Regions from separate parts of the Homo sapiens genome. Here region 2 is linked to region 1. Evidence: promoter capture Hi-C in 16 types of primary human blood cells and fetal thymus (Javierre and others, 2016). All regions are on one chromosome and are shown on one strand. The core of a region is centred on a gene start or on the middle of the fragment in contact, and the rest is flanking DNA. Distances in the headings are between cores, read along the strand shown.

Region 1 (4,275 bases), core at 549-3,048:
AGGCCACCCCCCACCCCCACTCTGAAGAGCAAGCACAGCAGGGGAGATGTGGCCACTGCCATCGTCTGGGGCTGCTTTCTGGTCTGTGGGCTGGTTTGCATCCTCACCTCTGCAGGGCTGGAATGTGTGTGTGGTCAGGGGGGCATTTGCCCAGGGAAGGGGGCATTTTGCGGCTTTTCGAGAATAGCGCCCCTAGGCCAGGCACTTCCTCTGCAGATCATGACTTTGTTTTGAGCATGTGGCTTCCTCAGGGGCTGTGGCCTCTCGTGGGAGTCCAGCAAGGTGGACATTTTGTGTTTGGGTTCCTTACAGCCCTTCAGGCAGTCGCTGGAGCCCAGCTGACCTTGCCTAGAAGGGGAGCTGTGGGGGGAGGCGCCCTTGTCCTCCATTTTGAAGACGGAGGGTCCTGGCTGGCCTCCCATGCAGTTGCCCTTTTTAGCACCCCATAGTCCCAACAGGTTGTGAGGCGGGGAGGGCTGGGGTCCAGGAGCCTGGGCAGTGGACTTCTCTGCCACCTGGATAATGGCCAGAGGACAGGGAAGCTCTTAGTCTGAAGTGTCATTTCAGACGCCCCCATGGCCTCAGGATTCCTGCCAATTATAGAGCCAGATGCACACTGTCACCTGGGCTTCTCTGTGCAGGCCTGACCAGGAACCCAGGGTTCCTCTTCCTTCTCCCTCCCCTGGAATGAGGCAAGGTTGGGACTGGGGTGGCTGCTGAGGACAGATGTCCCTACTCCTGCACAGAGGATGCTGCTCTCCCCTCCAGGGCCTGGACTCAGCTGCACCCATGTCAGGGGCTAAAACTGTGCCGAAAACTCCCATTCCTTCAAGTGCCAGCTCCCTGGGCAGGCCGTGGGCAATGCACACTGCAGGGGTGCCTCTCTGGCCTTCCTCCCCACTGCTTTGTGGAGATCTGTCCCCCACACCCCCCCACACACCAGGGCTATCTTGCAGTTGGATCAAACCAGGTTCACACCTCAGCTCTTCTCACTACCAAGTTACTGAGTGCCTGGAACCTGTTTCTTCCCCTTCGAGCTGGGGGTTCACCTCCTGGGGATTCCATGATGTGGGTCTGTGTGGTGGGGACAGCCACCACCAGCATAGAGTGTCCGGTGCCCCACAGGTGCTGTTCTGTGGATGGGAGGCTCCCTTACCTTGTTCCCTTCCCAGTGGTACCAGCAGCTGGACGTGGCTCCTATATTCCCAGGAGGAGATTCTTTGAAACCTTTTCTTTTCTGAGCCCCTGAGCCTGTTCTGATGCCCTGATGCCATACCCTCACCACCCCAGCGTCCTCCCTGCCCTGGGCTCTCACCAGCGTCTGTTGCCTCATGCCTCTGCACCTGAATTTGAAGGCTGCACCAGCGAGCCATTCTTCCCCCACCTCCAGGCAAGACTGTTCCTCGACCAGTGCTGGCAGAGGCCAGCAATCTTCACTGGGTCTACCCCAGTCTTCCAAGCCTCCCAAAGAGAAGTTTCTAAAACCTCCCCAGGATCTTTTACTAAGAATTCTCTCCTCCACCCCATACCTTTGGTCTCAAAGGGGTGGTGGGGAGGCCGCCCTCCGTTCTCCGCCCGGTTCATGGTCTTGTTGTTCTCCAGCTCCGGTGGAGGCTCGGGGTACTCTCCGAGCTCGGGGATGATTTCCGTGGCATCATTCTTGAACGCCTGCCACCCCTGGCCCTCCACTACACGGAAGGCTGTGTGTACCAGCAGGCAGACGAGACACAGGGCCAGTGGGAGCTGCATGGTACCAGCCAGAGGAGGGCACGCCACCTTCCAGTAGCACAGGCTCTGGTCTCCAGCCGAGACACGGTCGCCTTTTTAAAGCCCCTCTCTGCTTCATGCCAGCCAATGAGGACAGGCTGGGGCAGGGCTGGTCCCATGTTTCCCTCAGCCCCGGAGGGAGGGAAAGGGGTGTGCTCAGAGCAAACCCTCCCCAAAGACTTCTCCTCTAGCTCAGCAAACTTCCAAATTGCTGCTGGCACTCCCAGGTGACCCAGAGAGAGGGGGCGTGTGAGGCAAGGCCCAAGCCTGCTCTCCGGCACCTCCCACGTGCTGGCGGCTGTGGTTTTCAGATATCAAAATGAGCTCCGGCTTTTAATTGTCTGTCTCCCTGGGCCCTCGGGCATTCTCAAAACAAACTGTGGACCCGCTCAACAAAGAAAATGTGCAGTTCTGAGTGCTTCGCGGGGCTGAGCCCGGCCTATTCCATTTCTCAGGCCAAGTTCATTTGTCACCCCACCAACAAATGGCCCAAGGCGTTTCTGTTTGACCCCCATAGACCCAGCCAGAGGCAAAAAGATGCTTTTAAAGAAATCCCATTGGTCCCAACTCCACAAGTCTCAGCATTCATTGTCCTAACCAAGAAAGCCTCTCTTGGTATTCTCTGGAAGGCAAGAGAGAGAACTAGAGGGTCAGAGCAAGGGTGCCCGCTTGGGAGAGAGGGCAGGATTCTGGTTACAAATCGAGGATGCGCTGGTCACTCAGGCTCCTGTGGTGGACAGCACAGAGGAAATCCCAGCTCATGCTCCTCAGGGATCCTGTGCACTGTGACAGGCACTTCTGAGCCAGGGCACTCACTGTGGCTCGCAGGGTGATGTGCTGAAGACAGTCATTTCCCCAACCAGTCTGTGTGTGTGAGAAGACAACACCAAATTCCTTTCCTTAGCAAAAGCCACAGCCAGCGTTTTTAGTGCTGACATTTTATTTTCTTGTCTTCCAGCTGGTTACATTTTTCAAAAACAGTTTTGAGTCCTGTATGGAAAGCTTCATTGGTGCACACCACAGGATGTGTTCCATGAAGCCATCCCAGGACCAAGTGGTCACAAAGAAGCTAAGAGAAAATGCTGCCTTGGCCCTGCATATAATGAGCCACACAGGGCCGGGGCGGGGGGCGGGGGGGCAGGTAGAGGCGTGGGGGAGAAGGATTCACACCTGAGGTGCAAGAAGAGAAAGGAAGGCCAGAGGAATCTTTCATTGAAGACAGATTGTTTGAGGACAAGCAGCTCCTGTGAAGAGGCTGCCCAGATCCTCTGGTATTTTAACTGGGCAATGAATCAGCATGCCCCACCTGCAGAGCCTCTGCAAGTCCTTTGCCACCTGCCTCAACTTGCAAGTCGCTGTGTCCATCTGCAGCCGACTGTCCTCCTTTCCATCATCCATCATCCGACACATGAATGCAGCTGCTCTGACAGTTTTACAAGCCAGACAGAAGCCCCCTCAGGAAGGGCCCTCTCTGATACCTGCTTCCTAAGTCAGTTTCCTTCAGGGCAGATGAAAACAGCTGTGGCCATTGTTGGGGGTGATCTATCTCTCCCAGCAGAGCCGGTAGTGTTGTGAGAAGCTGGCCCTCCGCGCCACCTCCCCTTGTCTATGACCCTCCAGCCTCCTTTTCCCTTGCTCTGGAATGTGGACTGTTAACCCTCTCATGACCAGACGACTGCCTTCTTGCAATGGACTTGGGAGAGAGCAGTTCTGATGCCTGGGTTCCTTGAGCAGGTAGGATGGATGCTTATAGCCCCACCTGCTGTTGGGAGCGGCTGGACCGTCTGCATTAAACAGAGGCAGTGGGATTCATCCCTGGAACGCGTCTGCCACCTGCTGGAGACAAAAGGAGGGGTGACTGCAGGATGGCAAGTCTCAGGACTGGACGTGATTTCCTTTCCTTTCCTTTCCTTATTTGGAAGTGAAGTAATATTAAAAGGAAAAAGAAGAATCCAGTGGACTTGAACCTCTAAATGATCCACACCCCTCTGAATGGCTCAGCGAGAACCTGCTGTGACATCTTCTGCTGTTTCATTTAATGTTAAGTCATTGACAGCTGTTTATTTTTACTCAGTCCACAAACTTGTCATTGTTCACAGTACTCCCTGGAATTAAACCCCCAGGGTTTTAGCTGATTCCTATTGTGAGTAGTTTAGGTTATTTCCAATTTTTTTTCCTATTTCCAGCAGGGTTGCTATGAACATCCTTGTACGGCTGAAATTTTTTTTTTTTTCTTTTTTTGGCAGATTCTCTCTGTGGCCCAGGCTGCAGTGCAGTGGCACAATCTTGGCTCACTGCAACCTCCACCTCCTGGGTTCAAGCAATTCTCCTGCCTCAGCCTCCCGAGTAGCTGGGATTACAGGAATGCACCACCACGCCCGGCCAATTTTGTATTTTTAGTAGAGACGGGGGTTTCTCCATGTTACTCAGGCTGGTCTCGAACTTCTGACCTCGGGTGATCTGCCCAACTCGGCCTCCCAAGGTGCTGGGGATTAGAGGCATGAGCCA
Region 2 (4,275 bases), core at 1,205-3,704, 37 kb before region 1:
GTTAGCCAGGATGGTCTCAATCTCCTGACCTTGTGATCCGCCCGCCTGGGCCTCCCAAAGTGCTGGGATTACAGACGTGAGCCACCGCGCCCGGCCCCAACATTCTTTTTTGCTTGGGATAAACCCTCTTCAGGCTGTTAATCAATATAGATAAAAGTATACTGTTCTATTCTTTCTTCTCAAGTCATTTTCAATGCTTTCTCTGCATGGGCAATGCCAAAATCCCATTGAGCATGTTCTCTCTGAGGTCAGGGTTTCCAAATCTTTTGTTTCTCAGAGTGATTGCTGGCTTGTTTGGTTGCCTCAGCCAGTAATTCTTCATACCGCTTATGACCTTTATACTCCTGTACCCATTTTTCATGAACCCACACCCTCTCTGGCTGTTTGCTAAAACACTGGACATGATATTTTCGGGCACCTCCTGTGTTAATTTTGGTATGAACCTCCAGCTGGGGATCACTTCAATCCATACAAGGCCAGCACGGATAGGTTCCCACCTTGGACCACACAAGATCACCAACTTGAAACTTAACACCAGTGGACACTTCTGTTGTTGGAACAGAAGATAGTATTGGCTGAACTGGGGCTTCCTCTTTTAGTACTGGATCTTCCCTTGGTTTTTCTGATATGGTGTGAACCCTCTCATTTGGTCTATTTTGTTCCTCTGGTTCTAATTTGGGGATTTTGTGTGACTTGCGCTCTTCAGATCTTGATGAGTCATGCTTTTTGGGTTTTTTCCTCTTTTCTTTTCTGCTTTCATGCTTTGACTTCGTGTGCTCACTTGCCTGTACTTCATTTAAAAGGTCTCCACAAAGGGAAGACTTGAACAATTCCCTGCCATTCTGGATAGTTTTGGTTATTTTTAGTTTAACTTCAGGTGAGCCACTCTTCTTTGGAATCACAGTTTGTGGTACCGAAGTGGTGGCTGTGGAGGGGAAGGGTTTTCTAGAATTTAATGTGGTCTTCTGTTTAGAATTTCTGAATGGTAATAGTCAGTGGGGCTAAAGTTTCTAGCTGCGCCAAAGTCATTGGCTGACCCATTAGGATATTGATTATGCGACTGGTATTTGGTTTGAATTTCATACATGCTGATTGATGGCAGGTAGCCATTTGTGAGTGGAGGAAGATCTGTTGTAGGTGAGTATTGAAAGCTTTGCTGCAAGGTAGCTTCGTATGGTGTCTGGCCACCATCTTCAGCAATGTCAATTTTGTTATCAAAGGCATCCTCCTGACGGATGCTGGCGGAGTCAGTGAGTTGAGGTGGTTGTTGAACTGTGTTTCCCGTGATCCCTTGCATGAAAGAGAAAGAGAAATCCATTGTTCTGCTCCAGCATTCTTAACTTTCCCTTTCTCTCATCGGGCCTTCAGTTTGTCCCGTTCTAACCGCCCGGCCGTCTCAATGCGATCACAGGAGGGACACGGAGATCGAGGAGGGCCACAGCCGGACCAGGCCAGGCGTGCTGCGGCAGGAGGAAGGCTCCGGAGGTGGGGTGGGAAGGGGAGGCCGAGAGACGGGTGTCGCCGCGCCCCCGCTGCCGCCAGAGAGGAGCCTACGGCTGGCAGCCTGGCCTGGGCAGCAGGGTCCTCGGCGCTCGGCTGGGAAATCGCACGTCTCTCCGCGGTGACCTGTGCACAGCCCCTGGGCCTCCGCCTCCGTGCTGGCAGCCTCCGCCTCAGCGCACAAAGCCCCGTCACCCCGACTCTCGGGGCGCCGCCGCCGCCAAATCCTCAGCCCCTCCCTCATTGGCCGCGGCGTCTGCCGGGAAGTGCAGTCCCGGGTTTGGGGCGATGGAGCCCAGGAGGAAGCGGCGAGTCAGCGCGGCGGAAAGGGCGGAGGGGACGGAGGGGGCGGAGGGGACGAACCACGAACGCCCGCGGCCGCGAGGGTCTGGACGACAAAGGAGAGACTAGGCGAGAGGGCTTGTTGCTTTTTTTTTTTTTTTTTTTTTTTTTTTTTTTTTTGAGACGGAGTCTCGCTCTGTCACCCAGGCTGGAGTGCAATGGCGCGATCTCGGCTCGCTGCAACCTCCGCCTCCCGGGTTCAAGCGATTCTCCTGCTTCAGCCTCCGAGGAGCTGGGATTACGGGGGCGCGCCTCCACGCCCAGCTAATTCTTTGTACTTTTAGTAGAGATGGGGTTTCACCATGTTGGCCAGGCTGGTATCGAACTCCTGACCTCGCGATCCACCCGCCTTGGTGTTGCACTTTTATAACTCTTTTTACCTTCTCACCAAACTAGCATTTAGGAAAAAAAAAAAATCAACAAAAACAAAACAAAAAAACCAAAAACCTCTATCAGTCATTTACACGTTAGTTGGAAATAATTTAGACCAGTGTGGCTCTCCTTCGCAGAACACATTCAGTCCTCTGTGATTATTAGAAGCAAGGTTCACCTTTTGATCTTGGTTAAAGAAATTTCAGGCTAAATTTCTGGGGAGGAGATGTATTTCAGGTTCCAGGATCCCAGAATTGCTCTGCACAAGTCACAGCCATCCTTGTTCCCTGAAGTCTCTGTTGGCTGCACCATGTCTGCTGCTCCTTTATGAGTGGTTTTGGGAGAGGCCAGGCTGAGCTCTTACTAGCTCCTTGCAACAAAACAAGCGAATGTGAAAAGTCTTAAACACTCAGCTTTCTGGTCAGAGGAAATCCCAAAATCAGCATGACTCAGGATTTTAAGTGCCCCATAGAGTGTCCAAGAGAAGAAACCTAGGAGTCTAGGGTCTTTCAAAACCCCAAAGTTAAAACCTTTTATCACCCTTTCCTGACCTTCCTGGCTTAGGATTTTAGGCAGCCTCTTGGAGGCCTCCCTTGCCTGGGGCACACTTGGCCATAAACCCATTCATTCAGCCCTACTGATTTAGTGCCCATTATGTGCCAGGCAGAGGAAAAGTAGAAATGGTAGGATCTATCTTCAAGGGGCTCAAAGTCTGCAGGAAACAGGATCCGCTAACAAATTAGAGCACAAGGGTGTGCCGAGTGCTATAATAGCAGTGTGGGTTGCTGTTGAGAAAATACAGAGGAGGGTACCACCAGGGAGCTTCTATGAGTTGAGCTGAGCCTTGAAGGTTGAAGAGGCATTTCTCACATAGAGAAGACGAAATAGTGCCCTGATTGTATACTAGGAATGAAAACACCAAGTGCTTACCAAGCTCAGATAGGTAACGTAAATGAATGGAGTAGGTGAGTAAAGTAGCAGGGATTGTCAGCGGTGGTGGGGAAGTGGAAGGCCTGCATCCTGCCTACAGGGCTTCTGCTGGAAAGACAGCCTGGCCTGGATTCAGCCTCCATTTGCACCTTCTGCTAGGTGCTTTTGTGCAGTGCACAACTCACACAACCTCACATGGCTGCCCTGCCTGCCTAAGCTGGCCATCAGCTGCTTGTTGCCATACTGAAAAAGAGGGTTTGGTTTTGCCTCGCCTTGCTTTTTCAATAGAAGCCAGAAACTTGAATTTTTATGTAAAAATTTCCAATTTGTCAAATGCCATTGTAGCCAAACAAAAATCTAGCCTCAGGCTGGATCCACCATAGAGTTTCAGTTTGAGACCCCGATGGGAACCAGTCCCCTGGGCACATGCTGCTCTCTCTCCTCCATACCATGCAACACAGTCCTTTGCTGAGATTTGACAAGGGAAACACAGTCATAGATGAAACCCCCTACAGCTGCTGCAAAGCCCTTCAGAAACATGAGATTGGCCTCTGAACCAGAGGAAAGTAACGTGGGGCTGTACAACAGCAGCCAGCCTGTGAGACTGATGGATAAAGCTTTAATTTATCGGTGCACCTTGTTTGGAGAAAGCTTCCCTGCCCTCTTGGCTGCCCCCACCTCCAACCCCTCCTGTTTTGCTAATGATAAATGACAAGCAGTGGACATTTATTAATTAAACCACCCGCTGTAGCCATTGGTAAAACCCAAGGCCACATGCAGGGGAAGCATTCAAAGCATTCCTGCTGCCCCTGCCCAGGGCACAGGCCCCAGGGTTATCCTTTGCTGGAGAGAGCAGGCCACGGCGGCCACAGCCTCACATGATGGGCCTTCCTAGGATCTGTCTGGGTTCTGGCTGATAAATGGAAATCACCTCCATGGGCCACACAGTAATTAAACTCCTGGCATTCTTTTGACAAAAAAAAAGTTCCTCATGGGACATTCCCACAAGCTGCTGAAGGTCTGGGCCCTGCAAGCTCCCAGCTGATTACCAAGGAGTTTTCGAAGTTGGCCTTGACTGAGGATCAAAGGAGGATGGGAGTTCAGGGAATGAGGGTGGGGGTGGGAAATGCC

The links. Contacts are between HindIII fragments. The CHiCAGO score rates a contact against its expected background, and 5 or more counts as called.
Region 2: a fragment that was not itself captured here is called in contact with the fragment with the promoter of SOST in region 1 in 2 of 17 cell types (megakaryocytes and endothelial precursors); the score reaches 6.5 in megakaryocytes.

What each region holds. Positions count from the first base shown.
Region 1 is chr17:43,756,993-43,761,267 of GRCh38, forward strand. It overlaps SOST (sclerostin), which reads right to left and starts at 1,799. Exons shown (of 2, transcript NM_025237.3): 1 at 1,530-1,799. The coding sequence starts at 1,749. RefSeq lists a silencer at 3,449-3,743. The HindIII fragment of the contact is 6,420 bases long and covers 1-2,767 here.
Region 2 is chr17:43,719,119-43,723,393 of GRCh38, forward strand. It overlaps the pseudogene WHSC1L2P. Among named protein-coding and RNA genes, the nearest start is that of SOST, 38 kb to the right of the region's middle. RefSeq lists an enhancer at 1-46 and silencers at 1,486-1,555, 1,586-1,695, 1,846-1,905. The HindIII fragment of the contact is 2,610 bases long and covers 1,150-3,759 here.